Regions from separate parts of the Homo sapiens genome. Here regions 1, 2 and 3 are each linked to region 4. Evidence: promoter capture Hi-C in 16 types of primary human blood cells and fetal thymus (Javierre and others, 2016). All regions are on one chromosome and are shown on one strand. The core of a region is centred on a gene start or on the middle of the fragment in contact, and the rest is flanking DNA. Distances in the headings are between cores, read along the strand shown. Region 1 overlaps MYRIP (myosin VIIA and Rab interacting protein). Region 2 overlaps MYRIP (myosin VIIA and Rab interacting protein). Region 3 overlaps MYRIP (myosin VIIA and Rab interacting protein). Region 4 holds the start of MOBP (myelin associated oligodendrocyte basic protein).

Evidence for each region. Contacts are between HindIII fragments. The CHiCAGO score rates a contact against its expected background, and 5 or more counts as called.
Region 1: a fragment that was not itself captured here is called in contact with the fragment with the promoter of MOBP in region 4 in 1 of 17 cell types (M1 macrophages); the score reaches 5.0 in M1 macrophages.
Region 2: a contact is called between a fragment that was not itself captured here and the fragment with the promoter of MOBP in region 4, in 1 of 17 cell types (M1 macrophages). The highest score is 5.9, in M1 macrophages.
Region 3: a contact is called between a fragment that was not itself captured here and the fragment with the promoter of MOBP in region 4, in 2 of 17 cell types (endothelial precursors and megakaryocytes). The highest score is 6.2, in endothelial precursors.

The regions. Positions count from the first base shown.
Region 1 is chr3:39,985,815-39,991,927 of GRCh38, reverse strand. The region is part of intron 2 of MYRIP (myosin VIIA and Rab interacting protein); the gene reads right to left. Among named protein-coding and RNA genes, the nearest start is that of MYRIP, 180 kb to the right of the region's middle. The HindIII fragment of the contact is 2,876 bases long and covers 1,281-4,156 here.
Region 2 is chr3:40,004,472-40,010,518 of GRCh38, reverse strand. The region is part of intron 2 of MYRIP (myosin VIIA and Rab interacting protein); the gene reads right to left. Among named protein-coding and RNA genes, the nearest start is that of MYRIP, 200 kb to the right of the region's middle. The HindIII fragment of the contact is 604 bases long and covers 1,557-2,160 here.
Region 3 is chr3:40,178,464-40,184,827 of GRCh38, reverse strand. MYRIP (myosin VIIA and Rab interacting protein) reads right to left here. Exons shown (of 17, transcript NM_015460.4): 9 at 2,455-2,608. The region is part of intron 2 of EIF1B-AS1 (EIF1B antisense RNA 1); the gene reads left to right. Among named protein-coding and RNA genes, the nearest start is that of EIF1B-AS1, 130 kb to the left of the region's middle. The HindIII fragment of the contact is 4,261 bases long and covers 1,003-5,263 here.
Region 4 is chr3:39,465,162-39,471,072 of GRCh38, reverse strand. MOBP (myelin associated oligodendrocyte basic protein) reads right to left here and starts at 3,393. Exons shown (of 4, transcript NM_001393704.1): 1 at 3,333-3,393. RefSeq lists an enhancer at 3,093-3,775. The HindIII fragment of the contact is 9,372 bases long and covers 1-4,452 here.

The DNA of each region.
Region 1 (6,113 bases), core at 1,469-3,968, 520 kb before region 4:
TGCACTATGCACTATTCTAGGAACACAGGCTATATCAGTGAAGAAATGAGACAAAGATCCTTGCTCCAGGGGCACTTGAATTCATTACACTACATAATGAATAAAGTTATACAGCACAGTAGAAAGTGATAAGGGCTACAGAAAAAAGAAGCTATAGAGCAGGATAAGGGGACACCTGGAGTGCTGCTATGTTGGGGAACTGAAATATTGAATAGGGTGGTCAGAGTGAGAAGGTGACATTTGAGCAAATACTTGAAGGTGGTACAGGAAAGAGTATAGCAGGAAGAGGGAACACCTGTGCAAAGGTTATGGAGAGAGAAGCTTGCCTGTTGCGTTAAGATAAACAATAAGAGGACAGGGTGGCTACAGCAAAATGAGCAAAGGGAAAAGTCGTAGGAAGGTAGTAAAATAATTAGAAATGATTGTAATTAAGTAAATGGCAACTATTCCTAGAGAAAGAATCTATGTCCAAATGGACATCAGCACATCACACAAAAACACTTCTGAGTTGGAAGTCACAGCCAAGGCAGGATTAGAATTCAGTTCTCATTTTACCTCTATGAATTCTGAATTTTTCTCTGGAAATGAGAAGTTGGAGTAGAGATCTCTCTACATTTCCATCTGGTTTTAAGCCTCAAGCCTCAAGGGAATAGGAACAGATGCTCTGATGACAACAGGTTGCAGTGTTTTGTCTCTGGAGGACACTAGAAGCTTATCGAGGCAGACACTTAGACCAATTTTCCTTTTTTGACTAAACAAGTATTTTATTTATTTATTTTATTATACTTTAAGTTCTGGGTTACACATACAGAATGTGCAGTTTTGTTACATAGGTATACATGTGCCCTGGTGGTTTGTTGCACCCATCAACCTGTCACTTACATTAGGTATTTCTCCTAATGTTATCCCTCCCGTAGCCCCACACTCCCCGACAGGCCCCAGTGTGTGATGTTCCCCTTCCTGTGTCCATGTGTTCTTCGTTCAACTCCCACTTATGAGTGAGAACATGCAGTGTTTGGTTTTCTGATCTTGTGACAGTTTGCTGAGAATGATGGTTTCCAGCTTCATCCATGTTCCTGCAAAGGACATGTTTTCATACAGTTTGCCATGTGCCTGCAAAAACTACCTATTATCCTCAATGAACATGCATTCAGAGTCCACTAGAGGGCAGCCCTGCACTTAGAAACTGAAAAATGTTTACTTGGCAAAGGGAATGTATCCTCTCTTGGGCCACGATGACCAGAACAATCAGAATGAATAACAAGACACTGTGAAAAGCTTTCAATAGGATTTCAGTTTTTCAACACTTCTTTAGTCATGGGCTGTGGCCTAATGTAACAACAATTAGTATCAGCCCTTGAATGTCTGATTTTTAAACTTTTCCAGATACCTAATAGACATTATTTCACTCAAGCCTCAAAATAATTCTATGAGCAGTGAGCTATCTTTATTGTTCAGATAAGAAAACACAGACTCAAAGAGCAGAACAGGGGTGGGGTCAAGATGGCTGACTAGAAGCAGTGGCAATCAGAGGCTCCCCTTGAAAAGAACCATAACAGCATGCGAATCCTGCACCAGCAACTGAGGTATCCAGATTCCAACATCGGAAATGACTAGGTGGCTGCTGTGATCCACAGAGAAGAAGGAAGAGTAGTGTGGTGTGGTGGCTACACAGGGCAGAGGAGTCCACTCCCCCCAGCCAAGGGAGTCAGTGAATGAGCATACTACCCAGCCTGGAAAATGTCCTTTTTCCATGGAACTGTGCAACCCATGGTTTGGAAGATCCAACTCATGAGTCCATTCCACTGGGGTCTAGGGTCCCAACAATGAAGCCATACAGATTCTCAACAGGCACTAAGCTAGAATCTGCTTAAGGCTGCTGAGCTCCTGGGGGAGGGTGATCAGCACCACAGCTGCAGTTGCCTGCTGTCTAAGCCGTTTGGACTCCTTGGGGGACGGGTGACAGCCAACACTGGGACTGATAGCTGCCTAACAAACTAAGCTCTAAGGGCAGGTGAAGGGCAGCAGCCATCTCTATAGCTCCAGGCCAGGCTTTTCCCCTGCTGGAGCTGGGGAGGCTGGACAGCTTGGTCCCAAGAGGTATCCCCCACAGTCCAACACAATGGCTGTGGCAGATTGCGGACAGAGTGCCTCTTCAGGCCTGACCTTGACCCATCAAGGCAGGGCCTCCCTACAGGAACTCCAACAACTTCAGCCAGGGACTCAAGGACAGAACTCTGATCTCCCTGGGCCTGAGCCCTAGCGGGAGGGGTGGCTGCAGTCTCTGCAGACCAGTAGACTTATTCTTTCCTCCTGCTAGTTCTGAAGAATTCAGGCAGCCCAGATGTGTGGGTTTCCCCCCAGTGAAGCACGCCCAATCCACCAAGGGACAAAGTGCTTTGTTAAATGCGTTCTGCTCCCCTTGCCACCTAACTAGGTGAGATCTTCCAACAGGGGTTGTCAGACATGCTATACAAGAGCGTTCCTACTGGCATCAGTTAGGTCAGAGATCCCAGAGGAAGGAGCAGGCACCCATCTTTGCTGTTTTCCAGGCTCCTTGTGTGACATCTCCAGGCATGGGAATGAACCAGATGAATAGGGCCTGAAGCGAACCCCCAGCAAACCACAGCAGCCCTACAGAAGAGGGACCTGATAACTGCAAGAAAAACAAACAGAAAGCAACAACAATGCAACAACAACAATAGCATCAACAATAAAAAGTCCCCACAAAATCCCCACCCAAAGGTCAGCAGCCACAAAGATCAATATTAGACAAACTCATGAAGATGAGAAAGAATCAACGAAAAAAACGCTGAAAATCTAAAAGGCCAGAGTGCCTCTTCTCCTCCAAATGATCACAATGCCTCTCCAGCAAGGATGCAGAACTGGATGGAAGATGAGATGGACAAATTGACAGAAATAGGCTTCAGAAGGGGGGTAATAACAAACTCCGCTGAGCTAACCGAGCATGTTCTAACCCAATGCAAAGAAGCCAAAACCCTTGATAGAGGGCTACAGGAGCTGCTAAATAGAATAACCAGTTTAGACAGGAACATAAATGACCTGATAGAGCTGAAAAACACAGCACAAGAACTTCATGACGCATACACAAGTATCAATAGCCAAATCAACCAAGCAGAAGAAAGGATATCAGCATTTGAAGACCATCTTGCTGAAATAAGGCATGCAGACAAGATTAGAGAAAAAAGAAATGAAAAGGAATGAGCAAAACCTCCGAGAAATATGGGACTATGCAAAAAGACCAAACCTACAATTGATTGGAGTACCTGAAAGAGACAGAGAGAATGGAACCGAGCTGGAAAACACACTTGAGAATATTATCCAGGAGAACTTCCCCAACCTAGCAAGACAGGGCAACATTCAAATTCAGGAAATACAGAGAACACCACTAAGATATTCCATGAGAAGACCAACCCCAAATAATCATCAGATTCTCCAAGGTCAAAATGAAGGAAAAAGTGGTAAGCGTAGCCAGAGAGAAAGACCAGGTCACCTACAAAGGGAAGCCCATCAAACTATCAGCAGACCTCTCAACAGAAACACCACAAGCCAGAAGAGAGTGGGGGCCAATATTCAACAATCTTTTTTTTTTTATCATTATACTTTAAGTTTTAGGGTACATGTGCACAATGTGCAGGTTAGTTACATATGTATACATGTGCCATGCTGGTGTGCTGCACCCATTAACTCGTCATTTAGCATTAGGTATATCTCCTAATGCTATCCTTTCCCCCTTCCCCCACCCCACAACAGTCCCCAGAGTGTGATGTTCCCCTTCCTGTGTCCATGTGTTCTCATTGTTCAATTCCCACCTATGAGTCAGAATATGCGGTGTTTGGTTTTTTGTTCTTGCAATAGTTTACTGAGAATGATGATTTCCAATTTCATCCATGTCCCTAAAAAGGACATGAACTCATCATCTTTTATGGCCACATAGTATTCCATGGTGTATATGTGCCACATTTTCTTAATCCAGTCTATCATTGTTGGACATTTGGCTTGGTTCCAAGTCTTTGCTATTGTGAATAGTGCCACAATAAACATACGTGTGCATGTGTCTTTATAGCAGCATGATTGAACATTCTTAAAGAAAAAAATTTTCAACCCATAATTTCATATCCAGAAAAACTAAGCTTCATAAGCAAAGGAGAAATAAAGTCCAACATCACTGATCATCAAAGAAATGCAAATCAAAACCATGCCAGTCAGAATGGCAATTATTAACAAGTCAAGAAACAATAGATGCTGGCAAGGCTGTGGATAAATAGGAATGCTTTTACACCGTTGGTGGGAATGTAAATTAGTTCAACCATTGCCAAAGATAGTGTGGCAATTCCTCAAGGATCTAGAACCAGACATACCATTTGACCCAGCAATCTCATTACTGGGTATATAACCAAAGGAATACAAATCATTCTATTATAAAGACACAGGCAAACATGTTTATTGCAGCACTATTTACTATAGCAAAGACATAGAGCCAACCCAAATGCCCATCAATGATAAACTGGATAAAGAAAGTGTGGTACATATACACCATGGAATACTATGAAGCCATAAAAAGGAATGACATCACGTCGTTTGCAGGGACATGGATGAAGCTGAAAGCCATCATCCTCAGCAAACTAACACAGGAAGAGAAAACCAAACACCACATGATCTCGCTCACAAGTGGGAACTGAATAATGAGAACACATGGACACAGGGGGAGAAATGACACATACTGGGGCCAGTCGTGGGGTAGAGGGCAAAGGGAGGGAGAGCATTAGGACAAATAACGAATGCATGCAGGGCTTAAAACCTAGATGATGGGTTGATAGGTGCAGCAAACCACCATGGCACACATATACCTATGTAACAAAGCTACATGTTCTGCACCTGTACCCCGGAACTTAAAAAATAATAATAATAAAGAGCAGAATATGAAACAGGGAATCTTGTTAACATGATTTATTGTAAGAGTAGCCTCAAAAGAAGGGGAGCAAAGGAAGCAGGATACAAGAGAAGAAGGGGACAAGCAGAGATATGGCCTCAGCTGCAGTCTGCTTTGGTCTGACCCCCTGGGAGCTCTGGAACATGCTTTGTCCTGCAGAGTTGGTCCCACCTTGAGAAAAGAAGATATGCCTTTGTTCTCCTGCATTAGCAAGTCATGTCTGCAGGAATCCACTCCACCCCCTACCCACGGGGGTTATATTCTCTATCAAGGAAAGTTCTCCAGAGATAAGAGCAGCTCCGAGCCATCAGGGATCAACACTCAGAGCCATGGGATATGGGTGCACTGGACTGGCAAAGGGAAATGGGCATGGTACCGCTGCAGCATCCACTGTGGAATATCCTTCCAAGGATACTGCTAGTAGGTGTCAGAGCAAGACTTTAAACCCAGGTCTGTTTGCCTTTCACACCTTATGCTCTTAGGGAAGTTGAGAGAAAGAGACAGAGAGAGAGAGAGAGGGAGAGAGAGAGGGAGAGAAAGAGACAGAGAGGGAGTGGGGAGGAAGAGAGAGAGAAAGAGAGAGACAGAGAGAAATGTTTGATAATGTTCTCATATATAAATGTAAAAATACAACAAAATCAATAAACTGGGAAAAGAAGAAATGAGAAAAAGAGATCAAAGTAGCAGGGACCAAGTGTAACCAGAATGAGGCTGGCCCTTTGGGGACATGTGCTCTGACTCTAATGACGAGTTTCAGGTCACCCTTAATGCTTGGATATCCACCAAAAATTCAAGCCCAATTCCCACCTAACACTAGCAAGTAATAGTAATATCAATTTGTGCAGAAATAGAGGTGTGAGTAATATTGAACATCACACTGAGAAACTTCTGTTTAAAAACTTTCCTTACGTCAGATGAGTCGGTTGCGAAAATTTTCTCCCATTTTGTAGGTGGCCTGTTCACTCTGATGGTAGTTTCTTTTGCTGTGCAGAAGCTCTTTAGTTTAATTAGATCCCATTTGTCAATTTTGGCTTTTGTTGCCATTGCTTTTGGTGTTTTAGACATGAAACCCTTGCCCATGCCTATGTCCTGAATGGTAATGCCTAGGTTTTCTTCTAGGGTTTTTATGGTTTTAGGTCTAACATTTAAGTCTTTAATC
Region 2 (6,047 bases), core at 609-3,108, 540 kb before region 4:
GCTCTTGGAATCAAGTGGAAGCAAGTAGGTCTATAAAGAACTCTCATTTCACAGGCCTGTAGGGTTTAGAAATGGTTACTGCTACCCGGCACCTCTATGGCTGTCTCCTACTAGAATATCTGGGGTGGCCAGGGCTCCTCTGCTCTTTCTCCTCCCTTCCAGGCACTGGGAGGCACAGGAAGCTCTGCTGTCCCCTCAGCTGCCACTCTCAGAGGCCAGCTTTCCGTGAGTTCCTGGTGACCCTAACTCCTCAAGTCTTGGCAATGCTTTCTCCTTGGCCTTGCTGTCTAGCAAATTCCCAGAAATCTGCTGGCTTTGTGCTTCAGAACAAGCAGTGCTGTTGCATTCCCTCTCGCTGCATTCTTTCTGGCTCCATTCCCTCAGGCACCCTGGATATTCTGCCTGCATATACAGCTCCCACCTTGGCTTGCCCTTGAATGGCTGGCCATCTGCCTAGGACCCTCTCATTCACTGTCCTTTCTTCTGAGTTCCCAGGACAGCATTTTCTCCCTAGGCTCATCATTCCTTAAAGGAGAAAGGAAAATCATCTTTACTGAGAAAATGTTGCATGGAGAGCACAGACTTTGGCAACAGAAAGACCTGGCAAGTTATTTCAACTCGCTGACCTCAGTTGCCATGTCTGCAATATGAGGCCAATAACGCCTACTTTGTAGAATTGCTGGAGGCAGTGGAAATAAAGTATGCATTCACAGAACCTATACATCACAGTCACGGGATAAAATCACTGTTTTATCATTGCATTAGTAATAGCATCAGAGTGACCATTTAATGGAACCACTGGGAAATGAAGCCTCTATCTAACACATAGCATCCCCAGTAAGGTGAGGGGTTTCTGATTCCAGGAGGCAGCCCTGTTTATCCAGAAGACATGTATGCCCTTGAAGCCCATCTCAGATTGCTTTTCAGCAGGGCTGCTCAGGAAGTCCTGAGCCTCCACATTAAAAAGTAGCAGTTGGGGCCAGGCGTGGTGGCTCATACCTGTAATCCCAGCACTTTGGGAGGCCGAGGCCGAGGCGGGCGGATCATGAGGTCAGGAGATCAAGACCATCCTGGCTAACACAGTGAAACCCCGTCTCCACTAAAAATACAAAAAATTAGCCAGGTGTGGTGGCAGGTGCCTGGAGTCCCAGCTACTCGGGAGGCTGAGGTAGGAGAATCGCTTGAACCCGGGAGGCGGAGCTTGCAGGGAGCCGAGATCACACCACTGCACTCCAGCCTGGGTGACAGAGTGAGACTCCGTCTCAAAAAAAAAAAAAAAAAGAAGTAGCAGTTTGTCATCCCTCCACTGTGGTGACCGTGCCTAGGAGAGGGCGCCAGCAATGGCAGGGTCTGGCAGTCTCCACATTTGGCCCATACAGTTCTGTTCTCCCTGCTGCTGTCACAACCCCAACCTTGCTGGAAGTCTCACTCCAGCAGGGAACACTCTGTGTTGCTATTTCTCTTCCTCCCCTGCCCATCCATTTGTCTTGGCTTCTGTGACAGTAAGTCCTGTCACCTCAACCTCAGGCCTGGAGCAAGGGCAGGCAGGAGAAGCTTTGAACAAGGAAATAGGAAGCACACAGGGAGCAGACGGACTCAGTGGTGCACCTGCTGGAAACATCACGCAGTGTCTGCATCCCTAAGGCTACCTAGGTCCTGTCTGGGCACAAGGAAATGAGAAGACAAGAGGCAAATCTGCAGAGAACCTGAAATTCTTTTGACTTCGTGTTCTTTCAGCAATATCACTCTTGGGGGCTGATTGGAATAAGCATATTTTCTGGTTCAGGAACCATCAGGCTTCCTGAGGTCGAGTGGCCATGTGGAGACTGTGATGTAAGGAGTCCTGCAGGGTCTTGCTATAATTACCAATATTGCTGAAGTGCTGTTCTCCCTCGGCTGTGTCTTCCAGTTCATGTACCCCTGTGTCTGAGCTGGCTCTTGATTCTGGAATCACAGAGTGACTGCAATATACTCTCTTCCTTCTACCACACTCTCCTGTTTCCCTGGAGAGGAAACTGAGACAAAGCAGGGACTTACAGCCTGGCTAAGCCAGAGAAATACCCTAAAGTTTAATACAGAAAATACCATTTTGGAAAAAAATGGATAGCATTAGTTTAACAGGCTTCATTTTAAAATATGTTAAACGTCTTTCCTGAAGCTTATATCTAAATTTATCCATTGCTTTAAATTCATACTGAATAAATAAATACATAGCTTATTGAAATTTCTGTCCTTTGCTTGTTTAAATGGATCCTACATAATTTATGTGGTCCTTTATTAAATAAACATATATGGAAATGCTACCTTGTACCATATAATATTCTAAGTGCAGAGAAGTTCAGAGCCAAGAAAAGACAAAACCATGGGAGTCAAGTGCTATGAAGCATGAAGTCTCTACCCCAGGGTCTTCCCCAGAGGAACTGGGAGGGCCACTGAACTCAGCAAAAGACAGCCAGTTGTGTCTGCAAAGGCATTTTTAGATAATCTGTGTGATGGTTAATTTTGTATGTTAATTTGGCTAGGCCACAGTACCCAGATATGTGGGTAGAAAGGTCTGGGTGTTCTTGTCAAGGTGTTTTTCAGACAAGATTAACATTTAAACCTATAGACTTTGATTAAGGCAGATCACCCTGCATAATGTGGATGAGCCTCATCCAATCAAAGGACTTAAGAAAAAGACTGACCTCCCTGAAGAAGAGGGAATTCTGCCAGCAGAACACCTTTGGACTGAAGTGCAACTCTTCCCTAGCTCTCAAGCCTTGTGACCATTCGGCAGATTTTGATATGCCAGTTTTCATAATCATCTAAGCCAACTCCTTAAAATCAGTCAATCTTGCACACACATACACACATCCTAGTGGTTTTGTTTCTCTGGAGAACCCACTGTAGTCTGCTCTGGGCCAGGAGCCACATTAGATACTCGGCACACAATGCCAGCATATGCAAAAGAAGAAACTGAGGTTCATGGAGGTTAAGTCAATCTTGTCTCATCACAATGTCTGTGAGGAATGGAGGGAGTTTGAATCAAGACTGTGCACACTGATGAGGAGAGGACACCTGAGCTAAGGCCAGAAGCATTCACGTATGTTGGCGTTTCTATTCCCTTTCCTCCCATAACTTCCTCATTGGATCGCCTGTTTTAGAAAGGATTCTCCATGTGTGGTTTTTTTTTTTTAACATATATTTAAACTAATGCAAAGTCAGAGGACAGCCTGCTCTGTAGCTCACAGGAGAATGATGATGGCCAAGTCCTAGGACATGAATGGTCCTCTGACAACTGATCAGAATTTTGAAACGGCTTTCTCCATGGCTGGATGCATTAGCCTGTACAGAATTCTGACAAAAATGAGGCTGCCTCTGTCTTCAAGTGACACTGATGACTAAACCAATATAAGTTACTTCTCCAAAGACTAAACCAATATCAGTTATTTCTCCAAGTAAAGACATTTCCCCCCAGCATTTGCTGAGGCCATCACACACATGCAATGATCACTTAGCTGGGCATGGTAGTGAACACCTGTAGTCATAACTGCTCTGGAGGCTGAGGTGGGAGGATTGCCCGAGCCCAGCAGCTCAAGACTATGGTCCCATGATTGTGCCACTGCACCCCAGCCAGGGCAACAGAGCAAGACCCAGCCTCTTAAAAAAAATAAGCCCTCACAACAACATGTCCCATTTAATTTAGCTGCTTAAGGGAACACATCCACAGCAGTTTTCCATTCAGCTCAACAACTTTGTGTCTTAACAGTGGTCAAAGTAAGTGCAAATGCTAGAAGACGAATACTGCAAATACAGAATTTTCTGGAGTAAGTATTAGTCTTTATAATTACAGGGCAGCATAATCAACATTTAACATGAAAACTCCCAGGAAGAGAAGGTGCTCAATCACAGATTCCTGAAGTGAGAATATAGGCATCTGAGGCTCGGTTAATGGTCCCTCCACCACTCATCTGCTCAAGCCAGAAACAGGACGTTTTCTTGATTATGCCCCTGACCTGCCATAGTCCATCCAGGTCTACATATTCTAGCCCCTAAATATAACATATCTGGAATCCATCATTGCTGTCACTCCTCTAATTCAACACTACCTCACTGCCCTGGGGACCACCACAGCAGCCTCCTTTTTTTTTGAGACAGAGTCTTGCTCTGTCACCCAGGCTGGAGTACAGTGGCGCAGTCTCGGCTTACTGCAAGCTCTGCCACAACAGCCTCCTTCTAAGCTGGGTACTAAACTTCCCTCTCTCCTTCTATTTTCCTTCTCTAAACTACGGCAAGAAGGACCTTTCCTGAATGAAATTTGATGGGGTCACCCACCTGCTTAGCATGCTTTCACAGACCCTAGTTTTTCTCTGGGTGTAATAGGAACTCACATGGCCTGGATGCCTCCAAGTTCATCTGATTCTTTAACCATATGCACCTTCTTTCTTTTCTTTGAAAATGCCAAATTCTTCTCTTCTTTGAGACCTTCCCTCATGATCCCTCCTCATGGAAGCTCCTTGTACCAATATTAACTCAGCTAAATTCCATTCGGCCACCTCCATTTCTCCATGAAAGGCCTTCCCTTGTCTATCAGGTCAAATTAAATCCCCCTGTGACTCTCAAAGCACCTGAATTTTCTCCTTAATAGACTTTTTGCAATTTCTAATTATATATATGTGTGCATGCATTATATATCTTGCATATTTTATTTAATGTATTTTCCACATTATAGACCCAGTTACAAAGGAGATTTGCAAAGTATTACATGATATTATATATATGGTGTTGCAAAATACATTATAGACAAGATACTCAAAAGACGGGCATGACATGGTTCCAATACAACTGGCATGCTAAAAGGAAGACTGTTATCCATGAGAAGCAACACAGCTAATACTTCTATTATTAAATATTTCCATTTGGTGCCAATGAAATCAAACTGCATTGTTCCAAATCATCTGCCTATGAAATCTATTTTCCATGTTTCAATACTTTCATCTGTATTATTTTGAAAACTATGATTGTTTTGGCTTATTAATTTTGTGCACACACTTTTACCTTGGAACAAGTGACACAAGTATAATGGCCAATAAAGCCAGAGAATGGACCTAATTAATTGTAGAAATAATGCCTGATGGCATATCTATGCCTGAGACATATACATGGGTTATTTCATACATTTAACAAATACTGACTTAGAACTGACTTTCTCACAGCACTCTGCCAGGTACTATGAGTTACAGGAGTGAGTTAGTAAGACAGGAGCCTATGATATGCAGGAGCAGGTGAACACAAGACACACAAAGTGTGGAAATTAGGCAATAGCAAAGAATAGCAATCAATCTAGGTGCCCATCAGTGGTGGATTGGATAAAGTAAGTAAATGTGGTACATAAACACCACAGAATACTATTCAGCCATAAAAAAGGAATTAAATCACTTCCTTTGCAGCAACCTGGATGCAGCTGGAGGCCATTATTCTAAGCAAATTAAGGCAGAATCAGAAAACCAAATATGGCATGTTGTCACTAGTAAGTGGGAGCTAAATATTAAGTATGGACATGAAGATGGGACACTGGGGACTCCAAAAGGGGGATAGGAGGGAGGGGGCAAGGGTTGAAGAACTTCTCATCAGGTACTATGTTTACTAACTGGGTGATGGGATCAATAGAAACCCAAACCTCAGCATCACAAAATATACCCTTGTAACACACCTGCACATGTATCTCTTGGAAACGGCATTCACAGCAACCTGGATGGAATTGGAGACCATTATTCTAAGTGAAGTAACTCAGGAATGAAAAACCATATATTACATCTTCTGACTTATAAGTGGGAGCTAAGCTATGAGGATGCAAAGGCATAATAATAATACAGTGGACTTTGGGGACTCAGAAGGAAAGGTGGGAGTTGGGGTGAGGGATAAAAGACTACACATGGGGTACAGTGTATACTGCTCGGGTGACAGGTGCACCAAAATCTCAGAAATCACCACTAAAAACCTAATTCATGTAACCAAACACCACCTGTTCCCTAAAAACCTATGGAAATAAAAAATAAAAATAAAAT
Region 3 (6,364 bases), core at 1,884-4,383, 710 kb before region 4:
GTTTTATGTTTATATACAATTGAAAAATTACCTATGGGTGCCTAATTTTACAGAAAATTATGTACAAAATCATGTTTTGAAAACAAAATTCCTTTGCAAATTTATTATGAATGCTCATAATCCAGTTGGAAACTATTTTGTGAAATAGAGCATCTTGTAGTTGTTTTTATAATATCCTACACATTTATCACTTTGCAAGTCTGAATTTTTGTTTGTTTTTTGTTTGTTTGTTTTTATGGTAGAGAGACACTTATAATGCAGTAGTTGAAAACCTGCAAATTGGAGTCATGCTGTTTGGATTTGAGGACCAGCTCTGCCTACATTGGCTGTGGGGTCTTGAACAAGTCACTTAACTTCCCTGTCCATCAATGTTCTTATCTGCAAAACAAAATAATGACAGTGTCTGGTAATGCTGTTGGAGGAAAAAATAAAATAGTGCCTACATATGGACTCTGTATTTTTTTTATTATACTTTAAGTGACTCTGTATGTTTTAAAGTGATTTTAGAAAGCTAGATATTGTGTATTGAAGTTCTATTATGTGGTATTCTCATGTACTCTATGGAATCTAACAGTCCATTTTCTGTGTGCATTTGCAATCCATAGAGAAAGAGAGAGAAGTGAGAAAATGAGGAAGAAGAGAGAGAGCGAGAATATGAATGAATGAATATGAATAGACTGGGAGGGCAGAGGGAGGAAAGAAAGGCATATCTAGAAAAGAAAAATGCACTTAAAAAGCAAAAGCAAACACCATATACATAAGTAAAGAAACGATCACATGCTGCAGAATTTCTGCAATGTCATGGCACTGCAGTTTCTACTAATAGGTACTAAAAGGTTAATATAAAAATAATCTCTTTTGGTAAATCTTTAGAATGACAGTTAAAAATATTTAATGTTTTCTGATTCTTTGCACTGTCGTAACAATGGATTTTGTTTCTATAGTTGTTGGTTAAATCTTTTCCCTTTTAGAGTAGAAATAATAGCACAATCTTTAAAAGCTTATTACTAGGATGGCTATGCTGCTGTTAATCTTTTTTGTTGTTTTCATTATTCAGGAAAGGGGTCTAAATCTGATACGACATGGGATGAGAATACTGTTAATGCTTTCTTCATGTGAAGACAAATATGCCTGGCCTCCTGACACAGTGTGTGTATGCAGGAAATAGGAAGAGAGGAGTAGACCTGTGCAGGGGTTGGGGGAAGTTTTAGTCTGACATTCATGTAGACCAGGAGGCCCCCTGAGCACAGGGGCTTCATGGCCCTCGGCCGTCACCCACAGTGATGGGTCCAAGCAACTTACAGTCTTCTGATGTGAGACTTTAGGAAAATGACTCAGTTCATTTGAGCCCCTTCATTTTGAGGGATTACGTGACTCAACAGCTTTATAAAGGACCACATTCCATACATGTTGAAGAGTCTCTAAAGAGGCAAGCTGACTTGCCCCATGTAGAGGCAGGACATTCTAGGGGGAGGAATCAGGAAGAGCAGAGGTGCAAGCAAACATCAATGCCTTCCTCAGGATGTCCCTCAGGCAGGGATAGACAACTGCCCACCAAAGACTCTTTCATGGCCCAGCCGTGTTACTGGTATGCATCTGCCCAGCCAGGATGCCATTTCTCCGGGCCTGCATTGAGGTGGGGCCACGTGACCAGTTCCTGTCCACAGGTTGGGAGTGAAAGTGGCGTGAGCTCTCCGTGCTGAGATAGTTAAGAAGCAGGTACCTGCCTTTTCCATGCTGCCTTCCTCCATCTGCTGTCTGAATATGGATAAGCCCATAAAAGACTCAGAGGCCCTGGAGGATGATAGAGCCACAAGGTGGGAACCTTGTACTTTGGCCTCTGAAGGCTTCCCACAGGCCAGGGGTACTTGTACTGCACTGTTGTGTGATGAAAAAGAAAATGATTGTATTAAGCCGCTTAGATATTCAGTTTACTTGTTATAGTGGCATATGCTACCCTAACTAATTTATCCAGTTTCAGAAAGGACATCCTTAAAACCAGCCCTAAGGACCCAAATTTGCTGGGACCCAAATCCCTTTGAAAGTTGAAATGCCATGAGAGGTTGGTTTAATGCTCCTGGCCCACATAAGACACATTCTCCTAGTCCACATAGAACAGGCAGCTGAAGTGGGGTGTGCAGTGGAGTGATGTGAACACACTTGTCCAGGAGCCCCCAATCTGTCCCACAGGTCTCAGCACAGAGCATAGAATATGATGACACCCTAAGAGCCTTCATTCTGCCAGAGCAGCTAGGAAAACTGCCTGGGTGGAGAACATGACCACATTATATATTGTGTGTTGTGCTGGAGGCCTCATGACTTGGTAGCCCAGAGGGACACACACCAGTTCAGACTTATGGGAAGAAGAGCAGAGTGGCCATGCAATAGCCAAGATGTCTCCAAACCACACTTTTGAAACCCACAGACCAACTAGATACTGCTTAAAACAGTTACTTGTTTCATCCAGCCTGTCCACACTCTTCCAGCTGGGCAGAGCAGACTCTGCTCTCGGGTGTTGGCCTTGGTCCCTTGGCTGCCTCGATGGAGCCTCCACTGGAGGGGTCTTCAGGGCTTCTTCTCCAGTGATTGAGAAGGCAGACTGGGACCTCTGTGGAAAGGAAAGAGGGGAAGGGGTGAGCTCATAAGGTACAGTGCCTGGGAGGTGTGCCTTCACCTTTTGGGGGCAGACATTGTCCAGCATGGAGAAAACATGTTTAATGGTAATGGCTCTTTTCACGTGAGCCTTAAAAGCTGCAAATCAGTATATAAGGCCAGGTAAATGTTTATTCCCTTGCAAGTCAGCCAGGCCTAGTAGAAAGAATGAGATGTAGTGTAATTTTACGGGGCCAGCTCTCATACGGCTCTTTCTTATCCACCACTCTTGCGGCCAATATTTCTCAGGGCCAACTGTGTGTGATGAGTTGCTCTCGGGCATGCAAAGTGGAAAGCATGTTCTCCTCAAAGACCTCCAAACCTGAAGAGATCCCAGAGCAAGGTATGATCCATCCACAGCACAGGACTATTACAACATATTCCCATGTAGCTCCTAAATTAAAGGAAGGAAAACAAACTCTAACCTAAGGATAAGTGGCAGAAATGGAAATTCAAGTGACTGACAGGAACAAACTTGAATTGCATTATAGATATATAATGCATTATATATATATATGTTGTATTGTGAAGCTCAAATGTTGTATAGAGAATTTTATCAAATAGAAAGAGACTAAAGTTTTTCTTTGCCATTTAATGAAGGAATTATATTTTACTGGTTGTTTATTTTGCTGTTTTTACATTGGTAATCTTAAGAAGGAAAGGGTATATTCACAAAGCCACTGAAAGCATCTATGATTACAGTATTAAACAAAGTACTGATCCAAAACTCAGACCCCCTTTGCAGTGGGCTTCCACCTGCTGGTTGATGTCAGCACCAGCAGCCCCTACTCCCTTCTGTCCCAGTGCAAAGTGTGCTCATTTCCTCACCTTTCTCTCTCCCACAGGTACCTAGCCTAGGAGACAAAGGCAAGCTCTTTCAGAGAAGAGCTGTGGGCAGGGCCATGGGGTGCTTTGGAGCTGGACCCAGGAGTCAGCCGTGCCTGGGCTCCGTGACCACCTCGGCTACACTACCTTGGCCAAGTGACTTAATTCCTTGAGAGTCGTGGAAACTTAATCTTGCCCTGCACTCACAGTAAACTGTATGATAATGGTAGCTTAAAAAAAAAAGGTATGAGAGAATAACAAAGAAAGAAAGACAGCAAAAATGAGCACAGGATACTTGGGTGACAACACTGAGCTTTAAGATTAGAGGTTGGAAGAGGAAGATGCACTCAATGGCCTTGCCTCCTAAGGACTCTGGACCAGTCTGAGGAAAGACACAGAGATAGATGAGGATCAAAACCCAGCATCCCCATCATCACAGGCCAGGCTAGGGCCCAGGACCCCTCACATACAGGGCGTCTGGTTCACTCTGTTGGAGAGTGGTAATGCAGGCCAGTTCAGATTCAGAGTCGTAGGAAACCTCTACTTTCCCCACGAAACCTTGGGGTGATCTAGGAGAAAGGTGGGCTTACAGAACAAATATGGAACCCCCTAAGCTGTGAACCAAGTGTTACAACCTGCTCCTATCCCTTCAAATATAGAAGAGAGAGCATGATGGGCCTCCAGACCTGCCTTTCGATGCAATGGTCATAGGTTAACGCAACCCAGAGGTGATGAGCTCTCCTTGCCTTATCAGTTCCTCAAGACACTGTGCGTCGATAAGGTTCAGTTCAAGCAGGCCATGGCCTGTGGGAAATCTACCAATTGCCCCCTTCCCCAACTGGGCTGGTGGTCATGGGCTTCTTCTGTACTTATGTTTTACTGCACTCTTGCAAACATCTCTCTTCTGGCCTGGGGCCCCCACTAGACTGTGGAGCAACTGAGGGTAATGTTCTTTTAGCAGTGACATCTGTAGCCCCTGGCACAGTAACTAGTACAGAATTGGAAATCAATGAATGTTTGCTATCGAGTGAATGGTTACAAAATGAGTTTTTCAAAGTGCCTAATTTTTTTTTTCCAATTTCTTACACAAAATTATGGAGTAAGAGAAAGAAATAAAAAGGATCCCACTGTCATCTACACTTACATCCTGGAGAGCAAGGTTTTACTTGGAGGAGAGCCAAGCTAACACACATGTAAAGTGGCTTTTGGCTGAGTGTCATCTCCTTCATTCTGAGGGCACAGCAAGCACTGACCCTGTCTCGAGTGTCCAGAGCAGTTTGGATGATGCAGCTTGACAACACCCGAGGTTTTCACAGGGCTAGGTATTCAGAGCCATTCTGCGATTCTGCTAAATATCTGACAGAAAATGAGCAGCTTTCAGAGAGGATAGAGATTGAGGATGGTGGTCAACTGGCAAGTGAAGTTATTAAAAATGAAGGAAAACATCATTCTATGGCAAACCTCCATGTATCAAGAGGGACACGCCCTTGGCCCTGGTGTACCTTGGGATTGGCTAGGTTGCTCCTCCTGTGTGATCACACAGCTCTGTCCACACTGTTATCGTTGTGCACTGACTTGCTGTGTCTTCCACACACAATGAACTCCATGAGGGCAGGGATGGCCTTTTGTTTGTGATCCTTGGTTGCATGTTTGTGACTGAATTTATAGGCTGTAAGACACAGTGCTGGCCCTTATGAAGCTGACAGCCTAGTTGCCAGATGCAGTATTATTGCAGCCTCACAGAAGCCATTTACTGTATCTGGCCTTTAAAAAAAATCTACAAGCTTCTCACTGTAAATCACTGAATACAAGTTTAAAAAGGGGAAACAATACTTAATATTTCATTTTTGCAGTGGCTCAGACTTGTGTGTATATGTGGTGGCTGGGGTCCTTTTTTATGGGACGGAAATTCTCCCCCATTCTCTGCAAAAGCCAAGACTAACAAATGAAAAGTCCCTCTCTGGTCCCAACAGCAGAGAGTAGGGAATGCCAGGCTATAAAAATAGTCTATTTCAGGCAAATCAGTGTTCCACACTAGAAAAAAGCTACACCCTGACAACCACAAAAGGCCCAGCAGAGCTGTCTCCAACAGGTCCTAGGACACTGGTGGCCTACAGTCTCCAGCCAGGGTGGAAAAAGACAGTTCTGAGACCCAGGTGTGGTTCTGCCACAAATTCATTACAAGCAACACACGCCCAGCAGAGGGCACCACAACAATGCTTTTACTCACCAGCTAGTTCAGCCAGAGAGGAGTAATTTATTTGTTTATTATACTGGCTTATAACGCTGGCTGAGCCCTCTGTGCCCACTTTTCTTTCCTACGCACAGACTCTGCTTGTCTTACTTATTCTAGGGTACACAGAAGACGCAGGGCTGGTGACTGGAAGAGCTGGTCTGAGTTAGAGTGTTTGAACATCTATGCAAGGGGGCTGCAGGGGGAGTCCATGGATCCAGGAATGTTAGCACATCAGCAATCCCTTGCATTGATGAACTTGAGAATTTGGGCCTTCAGATAGGCCCTTCCTCTTTACTCCTTGGGCATTAACTTATGGGTGATACCTTAGGTAGTGGGTAAATGCCAGCTCCTCCTCTTGCTATGTGGGATCTTGGAAAAACTTAAACTGTTCTAAGCCTCAGTTTCCTCATGTTAAGGGATCAGTATCATGCATAGCGCAGAGAAAGCACTCAATAAATATTAGCCAAATAAGAGCATTTATTAAGTATTACCACTGAGCCGGTGTAACTGTTCTCTCACTCAACTTGATTGAGTGCACATGAGTAAACAGAGTCAGGATTGAATAACTTGCCCAAAGCATATGGATGGCCAAGGGTAAGGCAAGGGTTGAGCTCGGGTCTGACTGATTCCAATTCGATGCTCCTCCATGCT
Region 4 (5,911 bases), core at 2,144-4,643:
TTTAATGCATGGGTTGATCCTGCCACCCTCATTCAGCACAAGTTAGCTAGCCACGCCCTGAACAATGGATGGTCATCTGGGTGCCTTCACTTGTCCCTTTGCTCTCAGTATACTGAAAATTATTGAAGATTGAGCCTGGTGAGTGGATTTGTTGATTATATCTTCTGGTTTTTAGCTGTTTTAGCTGAACTTATTCTTTCATAAGGAACTAGTGAATAACTTAAGACTTTTAAGATCATACTGGTAGTAATATAAGCCCAAATTAATTTTTTAATAGGCAGAGCTAACTCTGCCCCTACTACTAGGAAGATCTTTTTATTAAATTAACAAAGAGGAGGAAAAACTAAATTTGACATTGAACTCAATTACTCTCATTAAAAATACAACTGATATTTTTAGTGAGTACAAATAATTTTATACCATTAATAAAAATTATTTTAAAATATTGCTTAGTTCATTTTCAGCTCATCTTTTTAACTTAAATTTTTGTAACTTTAAAGTAAAGTGTGTGATGTATTAGTAAAAAAGAATAATGCATCTCATCCATAAATTCAATAGGCTTATATCATACTTGAGTTCCAGGCTCTGTCATTCACTAGCTGTGTGTAATCATAGGCTAGTCTCTGGATCTCAATTTTCTTCTCTGTAAAATGTGAATGATAGTTCCTACCTCACAGATTTTGTTGAGAAGACTTGTTTTACGAATGTCTGGTACAGCTGAAGGATCTCAGAGTTTTGATTCCTGTCCCCATAAGGGGACAGTTTTTAACAGTTTTGGCCAGTTATTTTGCTAGTTGTCCCTCAATATGGGTGTGGTCTGTAGTTCAGTGCTGAGGTGTGAGTACTAGAACATGTAGGAAACACTTTTGATCAGGAGACTTTTTGCAGCGTTGCCAGAGGTCCGCCTCCTCCACTAGGGCAGACGTCCCCGTCAACCCGCGAAAGGATGCCAGCCAGCCTGGAGTGGCTACCCAGGGAAACTCTATTGAGTTGTATCTGCTTTCAGCAGATGGTTGCACTTAGAAAGGAATTATTATATTTATGAAACTAATACTCAGAGAGCAGTAGACATGACTCCAACACACACAAAGAATCTAAATTGAATACCTCACTTTAAGCCTATAAGATCACATACAGGTCACTGTAATTGCTATTTATAATCCAAGGGCAATACTTACACACTTTTGGTGATTCCTTGGAAATTATCTGTAAAAGCTCTAGATTTTTAATTTTTGGCAATTTGGTGTACAAAGATTTTAGGTACTCATTTAAAATCCTAGTAACTATTAGGTAAACAAGATCTTGAATTTAAAAATTGTATACTCAGATTCAAGTATGAATTTGGATATGTATGATCTAAAATGCAAGCCTATTCCTTTGAAAACTGCATAATTGTGAGAAAACTGCAGACCAAACCCATATTGAGGGACATTTAGCAAAATAACTGGCTTATACTCTCCAAAACTGTCTAGGTCAAAGCTGCCTCAGGTGTGGTTCCAGACTAAAGGAGGCTGAGGGGACAGGACAACAAAAGGTCATGCATGGTTCTCAATTCGCTCCTTGGACAATTGATGAAATCTAGATATCTCTAGATTTAAAAACAGTATTTTCTCAATAGTAATTTTCTAATTTTAATTAATTCCAATTAAAATAAATTTTAATTAATTCCAATTAAAATAAATTTTAATTAATTCCAATTAAAATAAATTTTAGTTAATTCCAATTAAAATAAATTTTAATTAAAATTAATTAGATATAAATATGTGTATATATACATATACACACATATGTATATATATCTATACATATACACACACATATATGTATATATACACACACATATGTATATATGTATATACACACACATGTATATATGTATATACACACACACACATGTATATATGTATACACACACACATATGTATATATGTATATACACACACATATGTATATATGTATATATACACACACATATGTATATATGTATATACACACACACATATGTATATATGTATATACACACACATATGTATATATGTATATATATACACACATATGTATATATGTATATATACACACACATATGTATATATGTATATATACACACACATATGTATATATGTATATATACACACAATGTATATATGTATATATACACACTCATATGTATATATGTATATATACACACACATATGTATATATGTATATATACACACTCATGTATATATGTATATATACACACATATGTAATATGTATACACACACATATGTATATATACACACACATGTATATATGTATATATACACACACATGTATATATGTATATATACACACACATATGTATATATGTATATACACACACATATGTATATATGTATATACACACACATATTTTTATATATACACCCATATGTATGGATACAGAGAGAGAGAAAGAGAATGATAAAGGAAATATGGTAAAACAGGAACATCTGGGTAATTTGGCTGCACCTGAAATTTTCTGTATTGTTTGCAACTTTTCTGAAAATCTGAAACAATTTTTAAAACTCACTCACCAACAAGTTTCCTGTCATTCTAAATACGAAACAGCATATCCGCACACCTGGCAGCAGCCTGCTCTCTGCCTCCCTGATTTATTCACAAAGAATTAAAAAGTCCTTTCCCCGTTTTCCTGCTAGTACTGTAGGCCAAGTTCATTACTCGCCTCCCTGACACATAATATTTTTTCCTTTCTCTGTCATCCATAGAACTGAAAACTCCCTGTTGTTTCTAAGATATTCTGTATCAGACAAAGCATTAGCGCCTTTCCATTTAAGGTTGTTGGTCTACAGGGGGCAGAATTCCGAAAAGATTTGGGCTTTGTTGTTCCATTAAGATCCCCCACACATAAATCCAACTGTATGAGGAAAAAAATTGTTCCTAGATAAGAAGAAAAACTCATTTTTAAATCATGACAAATAATAAAAGAAGAAATAAATTAAAAAAAAAAAAGCAGCAGCAGCAGCAGCATGTACTACCATCCATCTAGCTCCAGGAACATGGGGCTTTGAATCTGAGGAAATCTGAGTAAGGGCTCAGAGCCTCTCTCTGGGCTCAGACGATTTCCAAACATTAGCAGGAACATTCCAGGAGGCCCCCTGCCCACATCAGAATAAACATGGTGTCCTCTGTTCTTGTTTTCTCCATCCTTGTATGTCCTCTCAATCTTGACTATTCTTACAGAAAGTTTTCCCTGGGATATAATGAAATGGCCCATACAAAAAAGTACACTTGTCATTTAAAGATGAAAGTATAAAATGAAGTAAAATAAAAACCAATGGAATCCTCTTACCTTCAAATAGCAGTTGTTGTGTGAAACAGATTCTGCGTCTATACCAGGTCCCTGAGGGTTTGAGCCTACTTCAATGCATGCAGAATATATAGGGAGAGGTTATAGATCTGGGTTTTTCATTACACAAGGTGTTTTTGATGAGTCCTCAGCGAAGATCCACTTAAAAACAAAAGCTACACAAAGACTACAAAAAGGCCACACAAAGTTTAAACAAAAGGCTAAAGAAAGACCAAACAAAAGCCAAAGAAAGTTTAAACAAAGAGCGAAACAAAGATAAAACAAAGGCCAAAGACAAAAACAAAGAGCAAAAGAAAATCTAAACAAAAGCTAAGCTAAGCTATAACCATATCTCACACACACATACACACGCACCCCACATTCACTCTACAGCCCCCCAACATTCACATATTCCAGCCTCCCACCTCCCACATAATCAACACCCCATGTGAAAACTCACCCCTCAAGGTTCATTCCACATAAACTCCAGTTAAGTTCCATGCCAGGTCCAACCACACCACACACCAGCTCACCCTACCAAACCACACACCCTTCCACCAACATGCTATGCCACCACAGCGCCATCCCACCCAGCACCCCATACCTCACTCACACATCACAAGCCATACCCATAAGCCATGAACACAGCTGCAATCACATTGACAAATTCCAGGAGTTTTTATACTCCATGTAGATTAAATACCGATCACACTTCCTTCCCTAAAACACTCATGTATACCCATAGATACACCCCAAAACTAAAATTCACACAAGCATGCCCTTGTACACTTGATTAGCAAGAGTCTAATCCAGTCTAGTTACAACTAACATTGAATTTGGAAGTTTCCATGACAATTACCCTATGCATTCACATTTATGAAAACACGTATAAATCATCTCTTATGTTGAACAGTTTCTGCGAATGATAAATCTCATTCAATTAACATTTTATTGGCTTCAGTCTTAGACACCGGCATTTTCTTATAATTTTCCTAACCTAAAATGTGGGGCCACACCTTTCTGTGCTCTGTTAAATGCCATGGGTCCTGTAACTCTGCTTCTGCTATTTATTTTATATATGTAGAACTAGAACTACCCACTAATGATTTGAAAGATGAAAGCTTACTTCTGAAACCAATCCAACCAACAGCAGCCTTGCCTTTTGAATTCCCAGCGCCCCCTCCATGACAGTGTAATATAAATGTCAACATTACCACCAAGTTTCTCTTTAGGCTCTTGTCTCAGTAAAGAATCAGCCAGGGAACCTTGAAAAGGTAATCCAGTGAGACTACAAACATTGACTATAAATCTCTTTGTACACTAACATTTTTGTTTTTGTTTTTGTTTTGAGACGGAATCTGGTTCTGTCCCCCAGGCTGGAGTGCAGTGGCGCTCTCACCTCACTGCAACCTCCACCTCCTGGGTTCAAGCTATTCTTCTGCCTCGGCCTCCCGAGCAGCTGGGACTACAGGCACCCACCATCATGCCTGAATAATTTTTGTATTTTTTAGTAGAGACAGGGTTTCGCCATGTTGCCCAGGCTGGTCTCAAACTCCTGACCACAGGTGATCCGCCTGCCTTGGCTTCCCAAAGTGCTGGGATTACATGCTTGAGCCACCGTGCCTGGCCTCTTCGTATACTAACTTTATAGTTAATTAAACATTCTCTGAGTAATGAGTTATAGACGTATGCTGGTTGATTCACTCCCACTGTGATGCCAGTATTTTGCTTGTGTTGTACTGACTGTGACTGAGGGCTGGGGAGTAGGGTAAGATGGTTTAGAGCTTGAGCTCTGGAGGCACTGACACTAGGATCATCACAGGACCCACCTCAAGGATTTGAGTGAGGACTAAATCAGTTAATATGTGTTCACTGGTGGAAAGAATGCCTGGCACACAGAGTCCTGCACCAATGTCACTCTTATGGCCCTGGCCCTAAAGAAGGTTACCAACAGGGGTGGGTGGCAGTTGTAAGGACTTGTTTTCTATTCACAAAATAACTGGAGACTAATTCAGGCTATTTAAAAAATACAAGATCTAGTAGATATATTATAAAGCTCTATCTTTATTAAAAGACCCTCTGCTTCTCAAATCTTTCCAACAAAAGTTCTTAATGACACATTTTGGGGAAGTCCCATCTTTGATCTTCTACTCCACCATATATAGAGTGATATACAATTTACACAACCAAAGTATGGAGGTTCCACAAAATGCTTGTAATGCCATCTTTTTCTATTTCTACTTAAATGTTAGTGTTTGCCCTTAGTGCGGTGGCACCCTCACTCCCAGAACCACTGGGGAGGCCACGTCTGAGTCAGTGTCACTCTTCTTGAATGGCAGCCTGTGTTCCACACAGAGCAAGACCTCCCAGGACTCACAGTCACAATTAAGAAACTTGCTAACACTACAGAGGATTTTCCCACAGAAACTTTGGCTACAATTGACAATCCCCACATGTTATGAGTTAAAATGTGTCCCATCCCTCATCTCTCAAATTCCTTTGTTGAAGTCCTAACCCTTAGTATCTCAGAATTTGGAATGAGGCCGGGTGCAGTGGCTCACTCCGGTAAGGCCAGCACTTTG